Linked DNA regions of Homo sapiens: all the other regions are linked to region 5. The links are contacts of gene promoters, found by promoter capture Hi-C in human tissues and cell types (Jung and others, 2019). All regions are on one chromosome and are shown on one strand. Each heading gives the region's core, a stretch centred on a gene start or on the middle of the fragment in contact. The rest is flanking DNA. Distances are from core to core; before and after follow the strand shown. Region 1 overlaps SLC51A (solute carrier family 51 member A). Region 2 overlaps SENP5 (SUMO specific peptidase 5). Region 3 overlaps SENP5 (SUMO specific peptidase 5). Region 4 overlaps TFRC (transferrin receptor). Region 5 holds the start of WDR53 (WD repeat domain 53). Region 6 overlaps DYNLT2B (dynein light chain Tctex-type 2B).

The links. The method cuts DNA at HindIII sites, captures the fragments that hold promoters and counts their contacts. A contact is called where the count stands out against the background at its distance.
Region 1: a contact is called between a fragment that was not itself captured here and the fragment with the promoter of WDR53 in region 5, in 1 of the 25 tissues and cell types used here (IMR-90 fibroblasts).
Region 2: a contact is called between a fragment that was not itself captured here and the fragment with the promoter of WDR53 in region 5, in 1 of the 25 tissues and cell types used here (lymphoblastoid cells).
Region 3: a fragment that was not itself captured here is called in contact with the fragment with the promoter of WDR53 in region 5 in 1 of the 25 tissues and cell types used here (mesenchymal stem cells).
Region 4: a contact is called between a fragment that was not itself captured here and the fragment with the promoter of WDR53 in region 5, in 1 of the 25 tissues and cell types used here (lymphoblastoid cells).
Region 6: a fragment that was not itself captured here is called in contact with the fragment with the promoter of WDR53 in region 5 in 2 of the 25 tissues and cell types used here (lymphoblastoid cells and mesenchymal stem cells).

The regions. Positions count from the first base shown.
Region 1 is chr3:196,230,686-196,234,012 of GRCh38, reverse strand. It overlaps SLC51A (solute carrier family 51 member A), which reads right to left. Exons shown (of 9, transcript NM_152672.6): 8 at 1,489-1,594; 9 at 586-950. The coding sequence ends at 814. Among named protein-coding and RNA genes, the nearest start is that of SLC51A, 16 kb to the right of the region's middle. RefSeq lists enhancers at 982-1,271, 1,392-1,461. The HindIII fragment of the contact is 3,062 bases long and covers 1-2,781 here.
Region 2 is chr3:196,880,297-196,883,601 of GRCh38, reverse strand. All of the region lies in intron 1 of SENP5 (SUMO specific peptidase 5), which reads right to left. Among named protein-coding and RNA genes, the nearest start is that of SENP5, 14 kb to the right of the region's middle. The HindIII fragment of the contact is 5,535 bases long and covers 1-3,305 here.
Region 3 is chr3:196,908,258-196,912,091 of GRCh38, reverse strand. All of the region lies in intron 6 of SENP5 (SUMO specific peptidase 5), which reads right to left. Among named protein-coding and RNA genes, the nearest start is that of NCBP2-AS1, 30 kb to the left of the region's middle. The HindIII fragment of the contact is 7,535 bases long and covers 1-3,834 here.
Region 4 is chr3:196,065,883-196,069,491 of GRCh38, reverse strand. It overlaps TFRC (transferrin receptor), which reads left to right. Exons shown (of 19, transcript NM_001128148.3): 7 at 1-37; 8 at 1,362-1,460; 9 at 1,835-1,974. Among named protein-coding and RNA genes, the nearest start is that of TFRC, 14 kb to the left of the region's middle. The HindIII fragment of the contact is 3,924 bases long and covers 396-3,609 here.
Region 5 is chr3:196,566,740-196,570,129 of GRCh38, reverse strand. It overlaps WDR53 (WD repeat domain 53), which reads left to right and starts at 1,576. Exons shown (of 4, transcript NM_182627.3): 1 at 1,576-1,611; 2 at 2,823-3,253. It overlaps FBXO45 (F-box protein 45), which reads right to left and starts at 1,470. Exons shown (of 3, transcript NM_001105573.2): 1 at 828-1,470. The coding sequence starts at 1,145. RefSeq lists enhancers at 1-217, 2,235-3,390 and silencers at 558-852, 974-1,513. The HindIII fragment of the contact is 3,803 bases long and covers 1-3,390 here.
Region 6 is chr3:196,304,811-196,308,367 of GRCh38, reverse strand. DYNLT2B (dynein light chain Tctex-type 2B) reads left to right here. Exons shown (of 5, transcript NM_152773.5): 3 at 1,356-1,425. Among named protein-coding and RNA genes, the nearest start is that of DYNLT2B, 12 kb to the left of the region's middle. The HindIII fragment of the contact is 6,550 bases long and covers 1-3,557 here.

The DNA.
Region 1 (3,327 bases), core at 1-2,500, 340 kb after region 5:
ATTTTATGGATTTGGGACTTTTACTTGGACTCTCGGTGCCTTTGCTTCCACGTGCTGACTCTCTCCTTAGAAATCAAGCTCCATGACCACAGTGTCAGGAGATTCCTTTTCTAGCTTGTCACTGAAGACTCAAAAGCCATTGTCCCACAAAGTGAGGCTGACCCAGACCACCAGGGCCCCGCGTGGTTGGTGCCGTAGTAGCACACCTGTCAGGGAAAGGTCACCTTCCATCTGTTCTCCAGGGCCCCTGGCTTCTTCAAGACTCTGGGCTGGTGCTATTTCACCTCACCAAGTTCTCCTTTTCTTATGCCAGACACAATACTATATACTCTTCTTTTCATCTGCTTTAGGAAAGCTCAGTAAGCTTTCTTTTTTTTCCAGAGGCAGGGTCTGGCTGTATCACCCAGGCTGGAGTGTATGGCACAACCATTGCTCACTGCAGCCTCAACCTCCTGGGCTCAAGTGATCCTCCCGCCTCAGGCTCCCAAAGTGCTGGGATAGCAGGCATGAGCTGTCGCACCTAGCCAGCAATATACAACCTTGAAGGGTTAATAGTGACATGGACAGAGGCAAGGTGCCCAGTTACACATTTTCAGACATCATCTTGTTTATTACAAAACTTAAAACACCTTCCAGGCAAGATCCAAAGCAATTTTATTCTAACATTGTTCACCTTCATCTGTAGAGTCAAATGTATCTGCCAGCTTGTGTTGACAAGGGGGAATGCTTCCCATTTGGTCAAGGTTGAGGGACAGTAAAGGAATCTTGTATTCTAATGAGTACAGCATCCTTTCATTGTCCAAGCCATCCACCTTAGGCTTTGAGGTTCAAGTCCAGGTCTGGAGAAGAGAAAGTTTCATACCCAACCTTGTGGTCTTTCCTTCGGTAGTACATTCGTGTCAGCACAGTCATTAGAAAAGTCTCCAGTATGAGGAGGTGGCAATTCATCACTGCAGTGTAGGGTGAAATACAGCGTAGGTTATGCTGAGTTACAGAGGTGGTATTTTACTAGCAGCCCGGGCACGGGAGTTGAGCAACACTTTCTCCAGTTTATCCCCAAATCAGGACTTAGGGATACGAAATTGTCATAAATAACACAGCGGGTTAATGGTAGAGCCAGAACCGGAAGTTGGCTGTCTACTTCTGTGCTCTGAGGCTGGCATACAGTCCATTTCTTATGTGTGTTCAATCAACATGGGCTTCTGTTTTTTAACCATTCCCATTCCTCTCCCAGGAGCTGAGGACTGAACCCATGGCTTCCTGGGTTGGCCCTCAGGGCTGGCCTCAAGCTGTGGGGTTTCACTTCTCTTCTGTGTGATCAGAGAGGTCATAGTTTCCTTAAAGCCTCTGTTGGGATTTCCCGAAGATCCCTTCTGAACACTCTGAGCAGAAGTCAGGCTGGCCTAATGTCTGTTCTGGGGCCCCTTCTTTCCTGACTCTCCCCGTCTCATCCATCCCACGATGGGACAGGAGGCTTAACGTGCTCACCTTGAGACCTGGTTTTAGAGGAATAGGGAGGCGAACAAGCAATCTGCCCACCGTTGGCCAAGACTGAGAAGATGGAGGGCTGTAGGGCAGTCAGGATGAGGAGAACCTGCGGAACATAAAAGAGAGGCAAGGGTGGACTGGGCCTGCCCTCACGGCACAGAACGCAGCCAGCCCACTGCCGGGCCTTGCCCTTCCGCTGGGCAGGTTCCACCCACCGTCAGATCTGTGCAGTCACAGAGGGTTGAGGCTCTCACTTCATTAAAAATCTGTGGGATTTTCATCTTTAGGCAAATGACATTCTTATTTTCTACCCAGTAGTTTATTAGAGTTTCTGACAAGATATAAGAACTGATTAAAGGGTTCATTTTTAATTCCCTTTCTCAGCCATGGCTACCAATGAGCACTCAATGGATAAAGAGATGGGTGATTAGAGAAGAGTCATTCCATCTAGCTCAAGTGCCTGAGGTCCCTGCTCCTAGAATAATGGACAATTAACCATTAAAATGCCCTTTGGAAGCTCTGCCATCCCAGAGACTGCAGGGAGAGGGCAATGGGGAATGTGTTTAATGGGTGCCTGGAGATGGACGGTGGTAATGGTAGTGCAACTATGGGAATGTACTTAATGCCACAGAACCTGACACTTCAAAATCATTAATGGCAAATTTTATCAATATTTCACCAAATAAAGAAGGCAAAAGGGGAGAAGAAGAAGATCACTGTCCAGAAGCCCTGGAAGCACCATTTATCTTAGTATTGCCCTCCCTGAGTACATTGTGTGGAAACCTCAGCTTCTTCAAGGCTGGCGTGGCTCACCCAGGCTCCCCCACATTAACCATGGGCAGGCTCGGCCATCACACGGCTTTTATCTTTCGGCCTGGTCTCAAGTACTTCTGGGACCCAGAACCTTTCTGCCCCTTCAGTCCCTGACTCATTCCGGGGACTTCTCTCTCTATTCCCATAGCCCCTTTCATTCTACCTCCTATGTGCCTGGAAGTTCACATTTGGGAGGCATGTACGTAGATCAAATGAGAATGTACGTGAACTCACTCTGTTAAACTGTAGGGCAGTCATTATGCCTTGGGAGTAGAAGACCAGCAAGGAGACAGGATGGAGAGAGAAGGAGAACAAGACTGGGTTAGAAGTCATTGCATTTGGTGGAAAAGTCATCTTTGAGGTTAGAGAAGGCAGCACGTAGAAGGTGGGCCAACATGCCTTTGAGAGAATTTTCAGAAGCGTTGTGAAGATGAAGGGCAGGGTAAGGAGAAGACAGATGTGTGGAGGAGTCAAGACATACCTGGGTATAAATTCTAGCCCCGTTCCTTATGTGCCTTTGAGCAAGAACATCTCTGGGTCTGTTTCTTCCTTTGTAAAATGGGAAAAATGACTCCTGGGGTTGTGAAAATTGAAGTGTAATGTGTGAAAGTGCCCGGCACATGGTGTAGGTAGGTCCTGTAGCTAATGCTAATGCTTCTGCTGGTGTTGATGGGTTATAGGATTTTAGGAAGTCATAGGTAGAAAAGGAAAGGAAGAAGCAAGGAGACAAATGTAAGGTTTGTTAACTAACACACGTGTTACAGGTTAAATTGTGTCCCCAAAAAGCTATGTTGAAGTCCTGCCCCCCGGTACTCGTGACCTTATTTAAGAACAGTTTGTTACAAATGTAATTAGTTAAGATGAGGTCATAATGGAATAGGGTGGGCCCTTAATCCAATTTGACTGGTGTCCTAAAAATAGATGAGATGGAGGGGCACAGTGGCTCACGCCTATAATCCCAATACTTTGGGAGGCTGAGGCGGGTGGATCACCTGAGGTCAGGAGTTTGAGACCAGCCTGGCCAAC
Region 2 (3,305 bases), core at 715-3,214, 310 kb before region 5:
AAACGCTGGCTCAAAGTCTGAATAAGAAGCAGTGAAACTCCTAGATACCATCTCCTACCGTGGCAGATGATGAAAGTTTCACTTTCTGAGGAGGATGACCCAGGATAGTCCAGTATATCATGTACAGCTGAGCACAGGGGTATACCAGGAGGATAAATGAGTTTACACCGTGAATTCCCCTCCAGGCCCTTCCCCACTCAGCTTCCATAAGACTGGCAAGAAGCTCTATACCCACAAGAAGGCGACTAGTCCCTGGGGGAAAACAGATCATTCACGGAGAAAAAACCAACAGATAGTGATATTTGGGGATGTCACAACAAAATAAGTCTGAACAATGACTCAATAGGGTGGCCTAAAGTTTAAGAAGCAGTTAGACTCCAGATCCCTACTTAACTCCACATGGCAGGTAAGTGACCCTCCCCCACCCAAGATTGGAAGTTTATCCTTTAGATAAAATAGTGAAATGTAAAATGCAAAAAAGAGTAAAATGGAAAGTCTGCAGACACAGGGACTCCAGGCATAATTTGAAGATGGAATTATATACTGCATATGAGACTCCGAACACACTTTGCCACTCATCTCCCAGAATGCTAGCAGTCTGTCTCACCCATACAAGCAGACTGAAGATTCTTTTCTGGAGACTATAACTAGTCCACCAAAAAAAAAAAAAAAATCCATAAAGATACAGATATTACCCCACAAAATGGCCCACAGTGTACCCCAAAGTTGACACATTCCACCATGTGTTAAGAGTTCCCAAGCAGTTTCTTAGTGGTCATTATTAAAAACAACTAGACGGGCTGGGCATGGTGGCTCACGCCTGTAATCCCAATACTTCGGGAGGCCAAGGTGGGCAGAGCACTTGAGGTCAGGAGTTCGAGACCAGCCTGGCCAACATGGCAAAACCCCATCTCTATTAAAAATACAAAAATTAGCTGGGCATGGTGGTGCATGCCTGTAATCCCAGCTACTTGGGAGGCTGAGGCACAGGAATTGCCTGAACCTGGGAGGCAGAGGTTGTGGTGAACTGAGATCGCACCACTGCAGTCTAGCCTGGGCGACAGAGCAAGACTCTGTCTCAAAAAAATAAAATAAAAAATAAAGGATGACCAAGAATCACCAGATGTCTAGGGATAAAAACAGACCAAAACAAACAGATAAAAGCAAAAACTATATAAAGTCAACTTTTATAAACCAACAGGGAGGGGGAGAAAAGGGAGTTATTGCTTAATGGGTACAGAATTTCAGTTTGGGAAGATAAAAAGGTTCCTGGAGATGAATGGTGGTGATGGTTGCACAGCAATGCGAATGTACTTTAATGCCAATGAACTGTACACCTAAAAATGGTCAAAATAGTAAATTTTATGTTATGTATATTTTACCACAATTAAAAAAAAAGAGGGGGCTGAGTGTGGTGGCTCACACCTATAATCCCAGCACTTTGGGAGGCCAAGACAGGCGGATCACTTGAGGTCAGGAGTTCGAGACCAACCTGGCCAACAAGGTAAAACCCCAACCCTACTAAAAATACAAAAAAATTAGCCAGGTGTGGTGGCACGTGCTTGTAATCCCAGCTACTCGGGAGGCTGAGACACGAGAATTGCTTGAACCTGGGAGTTCTGAAGGCTGCAGTGAGCCAAAATTGAGCCACTGCACTCCAGCCTGGGTGACAGACCAAGACTGTCTCAAAAAAAAAAAAAAAAAACTAATACTATCTCAAAGAAGCAAAAGCAAATATTACATCCATTGAAAAAAAAGAACAGGGTGTTATTCTTTTTCTAAAGGAATGGCCAAAAACAAGAAAGGGGTCTTGAAAATTAAAAATAATAGCAGAAATTAAAAACTCAATTAAGCTTGGAAGTTAAAAAAAATAATAAATGAACAAAATGAAAAGACAGCTGATAAATTAGAAAAAAATATTTGCAACATGTATCATAAAGGCCTAATATCCCTAATATATAGACCTCTTAAATTAAGAGATAACTGAAAAAAAGCCTAATGGAAAATAGGAAAAATACATAAGGAGACAATTTACAAATAAAGCTTTTTAAATGTTCCTTAAGCTTAAGAAAGATGTCCAAATTCATTTATAAGACAATTGGCAAAAATTATAACACATTCTCTTGGTGGGGAAGAAGGGCCTTTCCACACTTTGTTAGGAGGACTACAAATTGATCCAATCTTTTTGGAGGGTAATCTGGTAACATTTAATAACTACAAAAGTATTTACCTTTTAATCCAGCAACCCCACTTTAAGGAATTTACCTGAAGACATGCCTACAATAATACAAATATACACATGTACAAGGCTATTCATTGCAGCATTGTTTATAATAGCAAAATATTAAAAACAACCAGCAGGGAACTGTGGCTCAGCCTACAATCTCACACTTTGGGAGGCTGAGATGGGTGGACTGTTTGAGCCCAGGAGTTTGAGACCACTCTGGGCAACATGATGAAACCCCATCTCTACAAAGAAATATAAAAATTAGCCAAGTGTGGTGGCATGTGCCTGTGGTCCCAGCTACTCAGAAGGCTGAGGTGGGTGGATCAACTGAGCCCAGGAGTTTGTGGTTGCAGTGAGCTGAGATTGCACCATGGCACTCTAGCCTGGGCAACAGAGTGATGTCCTATCTCAAAAAAAAAATAAAAAAGGAAAAGGGCCAGGCGCGGTGGCTCATGCCTGTAATCCCAACACTTTGGGAGGCCGAGGTGGGCAGATCACCTGAGGTCGCGAGTTCGAGACCAGTCTGGCCAACACGGTGAAACCCTGTCTCTACTAAAAATACAAACATTAGCCGGGCACGGTGGCACATACCTGTAATCCAGCTACTCGGGAGACTGAGGCAGGAGAATTGCTTGAACCCAGGAGGCGCAGGTGACAGTGAGCCGAAATCACGCCATTGCACTCCAGCCTGGGGTACAAAAGCAAAACTCCGTCTCAAAAAAAAAAAAAAAAAAAAGAATAACTGGCTAATACTCTTCAATCACATCAGTCAAAGTCCTGAAAGACAAAGACAGACTGTCCTAGAATGAAAGACTGAGATTAAGGAGACGACAATTAAACAAGGTATAATCCTGGATTGAGTCTCAGTTCAGAAAAAGAAAAGTCATGTGACAACTGACAAAATTGGAATAAGGTGTGCAGATCAGTTAGCAGTATTCTCTCAACGTTAATTGCCTGGCCTTGACAATGTGCTGCAGTTCTATAACATTGGAGAGGCCAGGTACAGTGGTGCACACCTGTAGACCCACCTACGTGGGAGGCGGAGACAGAAGGATTGTTTGAGCCCAAGAGTTCAAGA
Region 3 (3,834 bases), core at 1,204-3,703, 340 kb before region 5:
TTTGGGTATATACCCAGTAATAGGACTGCTGGGTCAAATGATATTTCTGGTTCTAGATCCTTGAGGAATTGCCACTCTGTCTTCCACAATGGTTGAACTAACTTACGTTCCCACCAACAGTGTAAAAGCATTCCTATGTCTCCACAGCCTTGCCAGCTTCTATTGTTTCTTGACTTTTTAATAATTGTCATTTCTGACTCGCATGAGATGGTATCTCATTGTGGTTTTGATTTGCATTTCTCTAATGATCAGTGATTAGCTGTTTTTGTTTTGTTTTTTTTTGAGACGGAGTCTTGCTCTTGTTGCTAAGGCTGGAGTGCAATGGCACAATCTCAGCTCACGCAACCTCTGCCTCTCAGGTTCAAGCGATTCTCCTGCCTCAGCCTCCCGAGTAGCTGGGATTACAGGCCCCCACCACCACAACTGCCTCAGCTTCCCAAAGTGCTGGGATTACAGGCGTGAGCCACCGCGCCCAACTGATGAGGTTTTTTCATATGTTTTTTGGCTACATAAATGTCCTTTTTTTTTTTTTTTTGAGACAAAGTCTCACTCTGTCGCCCAGGCTGGAGTGCAGTGGCGCAATCTTGGCTCACTGCAACTTCCACTTCCCAGGTCAAGCAATTCTCCTGTCTCAGCCTCTCGAGTAGCTGAGACTACAGACATAAATGTCTTCTTTTGCGAAGTGTCTGTTCATATCCTTTGCCCACTTTCTGATGGTTTATTTTTCTTGTAAATCTGCTTAAGTTCCTTGTAGATTCTGGATATTAGATCTTTGTCAGGTGGGTAGACTGCAAAAATTTTATCCAATTCTATAGGTTGCCTGTTCACTCTGATGATAGTTTCTTTTGCTGAGCAGAAACTCTTTAGTTTAATTAGAATCCATGTTGGCTTTTGCTGCAATTGCTTTTGGTGTTTTTGTCATGAAGTCTTTGCCCACGCCTATGTCCTGAATGGTACTGCCTAGGTTTTCTTCTAGGGTTTTTACGATTTTGTGTTTTACAATTAAGTCTTTAATTCATCTTGAGTTAATTTTTGTATAAGGTGTAAGGAAGGGGTCCAGTTTCAGTTTTCTGCATATGGCTAGCCAGTTTTCCCAGCATCATTTATTAAATAGGGAATCCTTTCCCCATTGCTTTTGTCGGGTTTGTCAATGATGAGATGGTTGTGTATGTGTGGTGTTATTTCTGAGGTCTCTGTTCTGTTCCATTGGTCTATATGCCTGTTTTGGTACCAATACCACGTTGTTTTGGCTACTGTAGCCTTGTAGTATAGTTTGAAGTTAGGTATGTGATGCCTACAGCTTTGTTCTTTTTGCTTAGGATTGTCTTGGCTATACAGGCTCTTTTTTGTTTCCATATGAATTTTAAAGTAGTTTTTTCTAATTCTGTGAAGAATGCCAATGGTAGTTTGATGGGAATAGCATTAAATCTATTAATTACTTTGGGCAGCCAGGAGTGGTGGCTCACATCTATAATCCCAGCACTCTGGAAGGCCGAGGCAGGCGGATCACGAGGTCAGGACATCGAGACCATCCTGGCTAACACGGCGAAACCCTGTGTCTACTAAAAATACAAAAAATTAGCTGGGCATGGTGGTGCATGCCTGTAGTCCCACCTACTCGGGAGGCTGAGGCAGGAGAATTGCTTGAACCCGGGAAGTGGAGGTTGCAGTGAGCCACGATCATGCCACTGCATTCCAGCCTGGGCAATGGAGCGAGACTCCATCTCAAAAAAAAAAAAAAAAAAAAAAAAAAAAAGATTACTTTGGGCAGTATGGCCATTTTCAAGATACTGGTTCTTCCTATCCACGAGGATGGAATATTTTTCCATTTGTTTGTGTCCTCTCTTACTTCCTTGAGCAGTGGTTTGTAGTTCTCCTTGAAGAGGTCCTTCACATCCCTTATAAACTGTATTCCTAGGTATTTTATTCTCTTTGTAGCAATTGTGAATGGGGGTTCATTCATGATTTGGCTCTCTGCTTGTCCATTGCTGGCGTATAGGAATGCTTGTGATTTCTGCACATTGATTTTGTATCCTGAGACTTTGCTAAAGTTTCTTATCAACGTAAGGGGTTTTGGGGCTGAGACGATGGCATTTTCTAAATATAGAATCATGCCATCTGCAAGAGACAATTTGACTTCCTCTCTTTCTATCTGAATACCCTGTATTTCTTTCTCTTGCCTGATTGCCCTGGCCAGAACTTCCAATATTATGTTGAATAGAAGTGATGGGAGAGGGCATCCTTGTCTTGTGCCAGTTTTCAAAGGGAATGTTTCCAGCTTTTGCCCACTGATATTGGCTATGGGTTTGTCATAAATAGCTCTTATTATTGAGATATGTTTGATGAATACCTAGTTTATTGAGAGTTTTTAAATGAAGGGATGCTGAATTTTATCGAAGGTCTTTTCTGCATCTACTGAAATAATCATGTGGTTTTCGTCACTGGTTCTGTTTATATGACGGATTATGTTTACTGATTTGCATATGTTGAATCAGCCTTGCATCCCAGGGATGAAGCCAACTTGATCATGGTGGATAAGCTTTTTGATGTGCTGCTGGATTTGGTTTGCCAGCATTTTATTGAGAATTTTTCGCACCGATGTTCATCAGGGATATTGGCCTGAAATTTTCTTTTTTTGTGTCTCTGCCAGGTTTTGGTATCAGGATGATGCCGGCCTCATAAAATGAGCTAGGGAGGAGTTCCTCCTTTTCAATTGTTATGAAATAGTTTCAGAAGGAATGGTATCAGCTCCTCTTTGTACCTCTGGTAGAATTTGGCTGTGAATCCATCTGGTCCTGGGCTTTTTGTGGTTGGTAGGCTATTAATTACTGCCTCAATTTCAGAATTTGTTATTGGTCTATTCAGACATTCCACTTCTTCCTGATTTAGTCTTGGGAAGGTGTATGTGTCCAGGAATTTATCCGTTTCTTCTAGATTTTCTAGTTTATTTGTGTAGAGGTCTTTATAGTATTCTCTGATAGTAATTTGTATATTTCTGTGGGGTCAATGGTGATATCCCCTTTATCATTTTTTATTGTGTCTATTTGATTCTTCTCTCTTTTCTTCTTTAGTTTAGCTAGAGGTATTTTTTGTTAATTTTTTCAAAAAATCCAGCTCCTGGATTCACTGATTTTTTGAAGGGTTTTTTTGTGTTTCTATCTCCTTCAGTTCTGCTCTGATCTTAGTTATTTCTTGTTTTCTGCTAGCTTTTGGATTTGTTTGCTCTTGCTTCTCTATTTCCTTGTTGTTGTTTTTGTTTGTTTGTTTTGAGACAGAGTTTCACTCTTCTTGCCCAGGCTGGAGTGCAATGGCGCAATCTCAGCTCACCACAACCTCCACCTCCCGGGTTCAAGTGATTCTCCTACCTCGGCCTCCCAAGTAGCTGGGATTACAGGCATGTGCCACCACACCCAGCCAATTTTGTATTTTTAGTAGAGATGGGGTTTCTCCATGTTGGTCAGGCTCATCTCAAACTCCTGACCTCAGGTGATCTACCCGCCTCAGCCTCCCAAAGTGCTGGGATTACAGGCATGAGTCACCACGCCCAGCCGCTTCTCTAGTTCTTTTAATTGTGATGTCAGGATGTTGATCTGAGATCTTTCCAGCTTTTCGATGTGGGCATTTAGTGCTATAAACTTCCCTCTTAACACTGCTTTAGCTGTGTCCCAGAGATTCTGGTACATTGTCTCTCTGTTCTCATTGGTTTCAAAGAACTTCTTGATTTCTGCCTTAATTTCTTTATTTACCCAGGAGTTATTCAGGAACAGGTTGTTTAACTTTCCTGTAGTTGCCTTTTTTATTTGTTTTAAATTGAGACAAGGTCTCAGTCTGTCA
Region 4 (3,609 bases), core at 1,108-3,607, 500 kb after region 5:
GATTGTCAGAGCAGGGAAAATCACCTTTGCAGAAAAGGTGAGTATGAGTTATTATAATATTAAATACAGTACTTTTGGTATCTTACTCTTCAGGTAAGTGATATTTCTTGTTAATATTCTTACATTCTGAAAATCAGCAATCTTAAACTCTCATACCAGATAATATAATTTATTAAAATGCTCAACAAATGAAGTAAGTTCCACTTACCTAATCAGAAGTGCTTAAGTGAAAGCTATTTCTCTGTATAACTCAGTTTTACGCATATACAGAATTCAGCTAAAAGCATGTTTTATAAAAAGGAAAATTAATAGCCAAACATACACAAGGAACTAGAGTGGAACATATCAAAAGACAGTGGTGATTTCTGCATTTTTAAAAAAAGTGGCAGGGCTCACACCTGTAATCCCAACACTTTAGGAGGCTGAGGTGGGAGGACTGCTTGAGCCCTGGAGGTTGTGAGATGTGACTCGTGCCACTCCAGCCTGAGTGACAGTGAGACTCAAAAAAGTGGTTGTCTTAGATGGGTTTTTGTTATTTTTCTTTTCTTTTTTTTTTTTTTTTTTGAGACGGAGTCTCTTGTCACCCTGGCTGGAGTGCAGTGGCGTGATCTCAGCTCACTGCAACCTCCGCCTCCCAGGTTCAAGTGATGCTCCTGCCTCAGCCTTCTGAGTAGCTGGGATTACAGGTGCCCACCACCACCATGCCTGGCTAATTTTTGCATTTTTAGTAGAGACAGGGTTTCACGACGTTGGCCTGGCTGGTCTTGAACTCCTGACGTCAGGTGATCCACCTGCCTTGGCCTCCCAGATTGCTGGGATTACAGGTGTGAGCCACCACTCCTGGCCTTTGTTATTCTTTTTTTTTTTTTTTTTTTTTTTTTGAGAGGGAGTTTTGCTCTTTTGTCCAGGCTGGAGTGCAGTGGCGCAATTTTGGCTCACTGCAACCTCTGCCTTATGGTTTCAAGCGATTCTCCTGCCTCAGCTTCCCAAATAGCTGGGAATACAGGCGCCAGCCACTGCGCCCAGTTAATTTTTGTATTTTTAGTAGAGACAGGGTTTCACCATGTTGGCCAGGCTGGTCTCGAACTCCTGAGCTTGTGATCCCCCTGCCTCAGCCTTGCAAGGTGTTGGGATTACAGGCGTGAGCCACCACTCCTGGCCCGTTACTCTTATTTTGCAAACAAGTGAGTTAATTTTTCAGGAAGCAATTAATAAATTACCAGATAAACAATTTGAAATATTTGGAAGTATTATAAGTTTAGTCCTCTGTAACCATTTGGCCTTTAGCATAATGTCCAGGATGTATTCTCATTTCGTATGATCAGATCTTCATTTTCTGAGCTTTATATGTTTTCTTTTAGGTTGCAAATGCTGAAAGCTTAAATGCAATTGGTGTGTTGATATACATGGACCAGACTAAATTTCCCATTGTTAACGCAGAACTTTCATTCTTTGGACATGTGAGTTATTTCTTGAGTAAATCACCGTTTTGAGTTCCTTGAGTTGTTCTTGGATTCCTGTATTAGCAGAAATAGCACTGTGTCTTCCTTAACTGCTCTTTTTTCTGGGAGGGCGTTAGCAGTAAGCAAGAAGATAGATTACATTGACTTTGAGGCTTTATTATTTGTTGCTAAAAGTACTTTGTCAATAGTGCCTTGAATTTGAGAATTTCCATATGCCATGAAAACAGGAGTCACATTGTAGAGCCACTCAGATTTTTGAGGCTTCAAGTTGGTAAACTAAGGTTGGGCTGCAGCCTTATACCAAACCTGAATCTTACAGAGAAGTTTTGAGGAAGTATGTGATGGAGTGAATTGCTCTTTTGTTTTCCTAGGCTCATCTGGGGACAGGTGACCCTTACACACCTGGATTCCCTTCCTTCAATCACACTCAGTTTCCACCATCTCGGTCATCAGGATTGCCTAATATACCTGTCCAGACAATCTCCAGAGCTGCTGCAGAAAAGCTGTTTGGGTAAGTTTTTATTTGAAAGCGGTCTTGCATAGTGAGGTTTTATGATTAGGGAAGAACGGTAATATGTTGATTAAAATGTTAAACATGATGATAATTTTCCACATTTGGGAATTTGGAGGATGGTTAGCTGTTACCTTGGTACAGATATAAATGAATTTTTCTCTATAAAGAGATCTTAATAATGGACTTTGGACTTATAAACACAGGAGAATAAGGAGACTTATAAACCCAGTGAATTCCTTGTGCAAGATTCCTGGCATAGCTTCTGCTCAAGTACTTCTGTGCTGAAGCACGATGCCTATAGCAGCCCATTCAGTTAGTAGAGAGAATCTGTTAGAATTCATATTGGGATAAAATCCTATTCCCCGAAACATCCATTTGTCTGGATTTTTCTTCTAAGCAATACGGTATGATTCCAGTTACCTTGTCTATAGATTGAGAAGCCTTGCTTCTTATGATGGTTTCCAGAGAAACCATTTATGGTTGTGGCTCGCTCCTCTGGATATCCTCCCTGTAACGTTAGTGTCTCTCTTTAAAAACAGAGCCCAGTTCCATTAGAGTACGTAGCATTAATTTTGATTTGGATGTGGACATATTTATCATTTCCTGTTATTACAGGATGGAGATCTAGTTTCAGGCCTTTATGAAAGCATTTATCTCCTGTATGACATAGGTTCTCTGATCCTGTTTCTTTAACATAATTGGATAGTGAAAATATATTCTACTTGATAGTCTCAAATGAAGAACATCTGTATATAAGGAGTATATGAAATACCATGACTGTTGATCATGCTGAGAGGCCTTTAGCATAGGGGAGTGTGTAACATACCATGACTATTGATAACGCTAAGAGGCATTTAGCATAGGTGATTTTTTTGACTCATTCTACCTACCACCTACAAATCGTAACCAACCTGTGAAGCCAGCGTCCCATCTTATCCTTATGTAGTAGGGGAGTAATAATGTTTCAACCTATATTTATGTAAGTAAGCCCCCTTAGGAGCAGCTATTATTTGGGTAACACAGAGGAATTAGATAGGGGAAGCACAAGATTTTTTTTTTATTTTGACAGTCTCACTCTGTTGCCCAGGCAGGAGTGCAGTGGCATGATCCTGGCTCACTGCAACCTCCACCTCCTGGGTTCAAGGAATTCTGCCTCGGCCTTCCAAAGTGCTGGGATTACAGGCGTGAGCCACCGCACCCAGCTGAGGAATATTTTTTATAACTGAGCTAAGAATGTGTACTATCCTTGTTAGTGGTGACAGTTGGGAAACATAAAAGTGTATTAATATTCTTTTATATATTAGAAGAACTTCATTTTGAGTCCATCTTGGTATGTATTCCAAATATAAACTACGTAAGTATGTCTGGCAGAAAGGCGCATAGTTAGAGAAGTGTTTTAAAATATTGCTTAATTAATGGTTTCCAATTGGCTGCCTGCAGATCAAAGTAAGACGCAAATGGTTCACCACTAGAGAGTAAGTTTTTTTTTGTTTTTATTTTGTTTTGTTTTGTTTTGTTTTTTTTTGAGACAGGACTTGTGCTCTGTTGCCCAGGCTGGAGTGCAGTGGCGTGATCTCGGCTCACTGCAGCCTCCGCCTCCCAGGTTCAAGCGATTCTCCTCCTCATCCTCCT
Region 5 (3,390 bases), core at 327-2,826:
ACCAAGACCCTTTGTTTATTCGGCCTGAGAGTCCTTTCAGCCGTACCACAACTTGTTCCTTGACATTTTTATTTTGTATATGAAGGCGGGCGGAATATGCAGGAAGGATGCAGCGAAACTGTAATCAGCACGTTAGATGACAAATAGAAAAAGAGAGACACCATCAATGTGGAACTATTAAAAAGTTAGCAAGGAAACAGCCAATAACAGCAGGACAAAGCAGTATGTTAGGTGGTGCCCGTGGACGTTCTATAAAAGCCTGTATCTTGTAAGTGAGCAGGATGACTAGAACTACACTCACTTGTAAGCCTCCAATATAGTGGAGGGAACTAAAGAGAACTTGGGGGAAAATAATGAAAACAAATGGTTAAAAATCAGAGCTTGGAAAAGATGAGATAAACGTGGAGTGAAAGCAAACTAGAAACTTAGAAACTTAGAAACTAAGCCCATGTTAAGGTGGCCGGGATTATTTAATATAATGAAGTCTATCTGGAGGCCGGGGAGAAAAGTAGGATGAGGGCATTAAAAGGTACAAGAGTGGTGGTCTGTCTTTAACGGGGAAAACTGTCAAAAGTTGAATGAGTGAGGCAAACTACCTAGTTGTTTGAAAAGTGGATCACGGAAGTGGGATGGGTTAAGGAGCAGAACTTCGATCCAAAGAAAAGAGAATCTTTATCTTGGGGGGAGGTGAGGAAGATACTGACTGGAGCCGTGGAAAGGCGGGCTGGTGAGGCGAAGCTTCTGACTCAGAAGCTCGGATGAGAAACACCGCGAACGACGCCGGGGAGCGGGACTGGGGGCAGCGGTGTGGCCCGGGGCTCTCTCACCTTGGCCTTGTAGCTGGGCAGGTTGCACAGGATGTCCGTGCGCAGAGCCTCTTCTGCCAGGCTGCGGGCGCACAGGCTCCGCCACACCTCGCTGTTCTCATCGCCGTGCAGGCAGCGGTACCAGTGCTTGCACACCAGGGCGCAGCTCCGCAGCTCGGACAGCTCCAGGTAAGAGAACACCAACTCCAGCACCCGGCTGGGCAGCCGGCCCCCGGCCCCCGCGGCCCCAGAGCCCGAGCCCGCGCCCGCGCCCGCGCCGCCGCCGCTACAGCCAGCGCCGCCCGAGGCTGCCCCAGCCCCCGGGGCCGGCGCCGCCATCGCCTCACCAGCCGGCCCTAGGGCCGCCGCTGCCGCCGCCGCTTCCCGCCGTCTCTGCTCGGAAGGCCAAGCCTCGCCCGGAGACCGGAGCGGCTCGCTCACCGCCCCTGTCAGTGCCAACCGCCGGCGCCTCCACCACTCCCGCCCCTGCCCGGGGGCGTCCGCCGCGCGCCCCGCCTCACTGAGGGCAGACGCACCGGCTGCAGGGGCGTCCTCCGCCCCTCCTCCGCGGCTCAGCGCGGGCGCCGAAACCGCCCGACTCGCCCGGCCTCTCCGCGGCGCGCCAGCGGCTCCGCCATGCGGGTTGAGGGCACGAAGCAAGGGCGCACGCCCAGCTCGTTCGCGGTTCCTCTCGGCCCCGGATGTGACTGTTTGGCTGCGCCGCCTCACGCCTGACGCTCGACGGGATTGGGCGCCGGCGGGTGAGGTTATCACTAGGCGCCGAGGAGGGGAGCGGGAAGCGCAGGTATGAGGCTGGCGCCGGTGGCTTCGATGCTGCTTTCCGGTGACTTCGATGCTGTTTTCCAGTGCTTTTTCCTTTTTCTGGTCTGGTGGCTCCGCGTCTGCTCTCCTGGGCTCCCTTTCCTGTGACGTTTCCCTGTGTCCGTTAGGTCCTTGCTTCAGACTCCAGCTCAACGCATGAAACTTTTCTCTCCTTGCTTGCCGGGTCCTGGCTCCCCAACCTTTTTGTGTAGCTTGGGCAGCGGAGGCCGTCTTTACCTGGTCAGGCCCTCTCGTTCTCCCTAAGTATCGGCACTTAGCGAACGTCTGTCCCTGTGTGCCTTCGCAAAGTAAGGTGGCTGCGACTGAACACCCCCTCGCCCAAACGTTCGAGTGCCATTTGAGCGCTAATTAAGTGCTGCCGTCTTTTGGACAAGATGTGGTCTTTACTGGATCCACCGCTTAGTAAGCAGATGAAGGCAATGTAGTTTTAGTCAATTAAACATTCCAATAGGGAGAATGACGTGGAGGCTATAATTATAGATGGATTCTTGGAAGGGGAAGAATTTCAGCATCCCAGCTTGGGCAACATTGCGAGGCAGTGTCGCTACAAAAAAATAGAAAAATTAGCCGAGGGTGGTGGCGTGCGCCTCTGGTCCCAGCTACTTGGGAGGCTGAGCCCGGGAGGTCGAGGCTGAGGTGAACCGTAATCGCCCTGCTGTGCTCCAGCCTGGGCGACAGAGTGAGCCCCTACCTCACACACACACACACACACACACACACACACACACAAGAATTTCAGCATTATTTGATTATACTACGATTTCCTAGGTGGCCCCAAAGTTTTCCGACAGCCTTTAAAGCATGCTTAGTAAGAGAATAATAATAACCATCATTTGAGCCACGGTGTGAACCAGGCACTGTATACTACGTCATTTACGCAGATTTTTATATACGTAATCCTCAAAACAACTCCATGAGCTGAGTAATTAAAATAATAGGGTTCACAGACTCCCTTGGTCAACTCCAATGTCTTGGAACCTTTATGTAGTAAGAAATCTTTTCTGAAGCTTCTTGCTATGTATAATCCATTTCTTAGTCTCTAGTAAAAGCAAAGGAACGGTGGCTACCTTCCCTACCCTCTGATTCATGGTGTTTGATTATTATTTGCCTGTCCCTTCTCCTCATGTCTTTTTCACCAAGTCCAGTAACCCTAATTCTTTTCATTCTTACCAGTGCCAGCGCCACAGCCCTTCAATCATTTTGGTTGCTATCCAGCTTCTCCACATCAAGTCCAACTTCAGAAACCCCAAGCCTGTAGAGAAAAGTTGACCTGTGCTGACTCTGGTGATGGTGACTGTCTCTCACTAATTTCTTTGAAGTCTTCAAGGATAAGCAGAGTTGATCCATCTGAGAAAGGGATCATGAACTAGACAGAATGAACAGCCTTAGAGGCACAGACTCTTGAACGGGACGGTGGTGGTATGACTAGTGCAGAGTGTTTAGAGATCACTCAGTTTTTAAAGACTGGCCTTTATCGTGTCTCAGTGCAGCCGAGGCAGAGCCTTTGAAGGATGCGATGTTGTCATTCTTACTAATCTAGTCCAGCCGCTGAGGTGACTTTCAACGGCAGACCGTCTCCTGAGCGCCCCAGGTAGAATTTCAAAGTAAGATTACCCTTCTCAACCCCTCCTTTTCTTTTTTACAAATCTTTCACCTGCTCATCACCCACCCCACCAAGCCCCTTCCCCATGTTCAGTACTCTCATTCTGCGCTCTGGCTGATGAGAACTGCCGGCTGTGGC
Region 6 (3,557 bases), core at 800-3,299, 260 kb after region 5:
GGAGATCCCATGCTCTCCTGCTGTGCACATGCCCCTCGTTCTCGGACGTGTGGGGAGATGGGGCTGACCTGGTCCCCTCTTACTCAGCCCTCAAGACTCAGTTTATTGGCCGGCCACATCTTCCAAGAAGTCTTTTCCAGTGATTTCTTGCCACTGCCCAGACAAACAGAGGAACTGCCCCCACTGGCTCTGTGTTCCTGATGTACATCATACATGCCACTCCTTGAATTATAAGCATACTCAATTTATAATTTATTTTTCTATTTTCTTTTTTTTTTTTTTTTTCGAGATGGAGTTTTGCTCTTGTTACCCAGGCTAGTGTGCAATGGTGCGATCTCAGCTCACTGCAACCTCCGCCTCCCAGGTTCAAGCAATTCTCCTGCCTCAGCCTCCCGAGTAGCTGGGGTTACAGGGATCTGCCACCATGCCTGGCTAATTTTTATATTTTTTAGTAGAGACGGGGCTTAACCATGTTGGCCAGGCTTGTCTCAAACTCCTGACCTCAGGTGATCCACTGGCCTCACCTTCTGAGAGTGCTGGGATTACAGGCGTGAGCCACCGTGCCCGGCCTATTTTTCTATTTTCCTTTGAGTTCTTTATTACTGTGAGTTCTTTAAGGCAAGAAAAACGTCTTATTTATTTCTCTATCTTGAAGGTTCAGCTCACTAGCTGACTTATAGTAGGGGAAAAAGGAAGGAAGCTAAGGTTTATTGAAGGACTAGTATTTAACAGCACTGTTTAGATGCTTTAGATATTACTATATCTGACCGGGCGCGGTGGCTCACGCCTGTAATCCCAGCACTTTGGGAGGCCAAGGTGAGTGGATCACCTGAGGTCAGGAGTTCGAGACCAGCCTGGGCAACATGGTGAAACACCTTTTCTACTAAAAATACAAAAATTAGCCAGGTGTGGTGATGCATACCTGTAGTCCCAGCTACTGAGGAGGCTGAGGTAGGAGAATCACTTGAACCCTGGAGGCAGAGGTTGCCGGTGAGCTGAGATCGTGCCACTGTACTCCAGCCTGGGCAACAGAGTGAGAATCCATCTCAAAAACAAAACAAAAAAAAGATACTACTATATCTTACCTAACCTTATAACAATCTTGGGAGGTAGGTACTGATATTCCTGTTTAATAAGGGAGACTTAAACTGAAAAGTTAAATTACTTTCTGAGGTTATACACTTGCTGAGTTATAGTTAGGATCTGCCTTCACGTCCTCCTGACCCCCAAGCTTACCACCATATTCATTAAGTACTTGTGGATTGAATGTTTATGTCCATTTCTGGGCAAATTTGTCTTCAATAAGTAATTTTACTACATATTTGCTTATAAATAACCTTATTTTTTCTTTCTAGAAATGGGATTTGACCGATACAAAATGGTGGTGCAAGTAGTGATTGGAGAACAAAGAGGTGAAGGAGTATTGTGAGTAGCTGGATTTTCCTTCTTGTTTTAGTCATCTATATTTCTTATGAGGTATCTGTCCTTTGGACAATTCAGTAAGAGTGCCTTTACAAGAGTGAGAAGGGCCGGGTGTGATGGGTCACACCTGTAATCTCAGCACTTTGGGAGGCTGAGGCGGGTGGATCACCTGAGGTCAGGAGTTCAAGACCAGCCTGGCCAACATGGCGAAACCCCGTCTCTACTAAAAATTAGCCGGGTGTGATGGCGTGCGCTTGTAGTCCCAGCTACTCAGGAGGCTGAGGCAGGAGAATCACTTCAACGCAGGAGGTGGAGGTTGCAGTGAGCCAAGATCGTGTCATTGCACTCCAGCCTGGGTGACAGAGTAAGACTCTGTCTCAAAAATAAATAAATAAAATATCTTTATTATCTCTAAAATATTGTCAGTCCTTAATATCATAAAATATGCTGTTATTATTCAGATATGCCTCATATATGTATGTATGTGTTTTCTTTCTTTTCTTTTTTTTTTGTTTAAAGAGACAGGGTCTCATTTTGTCACCCAGGTTGGTGTGCAATGGCACTATCACAACTCACTGCAGCCTTGGCCTCCTGGGCTCAAGTGATCCTCCTGCCTCAGCCTCCTGAGTAGCTGGGACTGCAGGTGTGCACCACCACACCTGGCTAATTTTCTTTCTTTCTTTTTTTTTTTTTTTTTTGCAGAGATGGGTCACACTCTGTTGGCCAGTCTGGTCTTAAACTCCTGGGCTCAGGCAATTCACCAGCCTTGGCCTCCTAAAGTGGTGGACTTATAGGCTTGAACCACCATGCCAGACCTATTATTTTCTTTTTACAATTTTTTCAAATTAAGATTCAAACAAGGTCCACACATTGCATTTGGTTAATATGTAAATTAGGATTTTTTTTTAAGACGTAAGATCTTGCTATCTTGCCCAGGCTGGAGTGCAGTGGCTATTCACAGATGTGATCATAACACACTACAGACTAGAACTCCTGGGCTCAAGTGATCCTCCCACCTCAGCCTGCCAGGTAGCTGGGACTATAGGTGCACACCACAGCATCTGGCTTTAAATTTACTTCAATGTGTTGTTTTTGCTGCCTCATTTCTCTCTTTCTTCTTTTAATCCTGCCATTTGATTTTATTTTTATGACAGTCTTGCTTCCTCACCCAGGCTGGAGTGCAGTGGCATGATCTCGGCTCACTGCAACCTCTGCCTGCCGGGTTCAAGTGATTCTCCTGCCTCAGCCTCCTGAGTAGCTGGGATTACAGGCGCTCACCACCACGCCCAGGTAATTTTTGTATTTTTAGTAGAGATGGGGTTTCACCATGTTGGCCAGGTTGGTCTCCAACTCCTGACCTCAGGTGATCCACCCACCTTGGCCTCCCAAAGTGCTGGGATTGCAGGCGTGAGCCACTGTGCCCTGTCAGTTATTTATTTATTTATTTTTTCCTGCCATTTATTTGTTGAAGAAATTGGTTTGTTTGTCCTGTAGAGTTTCCTATATTCTGGCAGTTGCTGATTATATACCTATGGTATTGTTTAATATGTCTTCTATTTCCTGTACTTCTTGAAAATAAGTAGTTAGATCTAGTCTTAATTAGCCATAGGTTTGAGGTTGGGGAAATACTGTTTTCTATACATCCTATTGCATCTTCTCAGAAGGTACAAAATAGCTGGTCATCTCTTTTTGCTTTGTTAAGGTTGATCATGGAGTTCAGATATTGTCAGATGGATCCATCTATTATAAAGTTTCCCATCAGGGCCGGGCGTGGTGGCTCACACCTGTAATCCCAGCACTTTGGGAAGCTGAGGCAGGAGGATCACTTGAGCCCAGGAGTTCCAGACCAGCCTGGGCAACACAGCAAAACTCTGTCTCTACAAAAAAATACAAAAATTAGCCGGGCATGGTGGCACACGCCTGTGGTCCCAGCTACTTGAGAGACTGAGGTGGGAGGACCTCTTGAGCCCAGGAAGGTTGAGACTGCAGTAAGCCGTGATTGTGCCACTGTACTCCAGCCTGGGTGACAGAGTGAGACCCTGCCTCAGATAGGTAGGTAGGTAGGTAGGTAGATAAGTGCTTACCTTGTCTTCTAGTTTCCATTGTTTCTGTTGAGAAGTCAGCTGTAAGTTTTA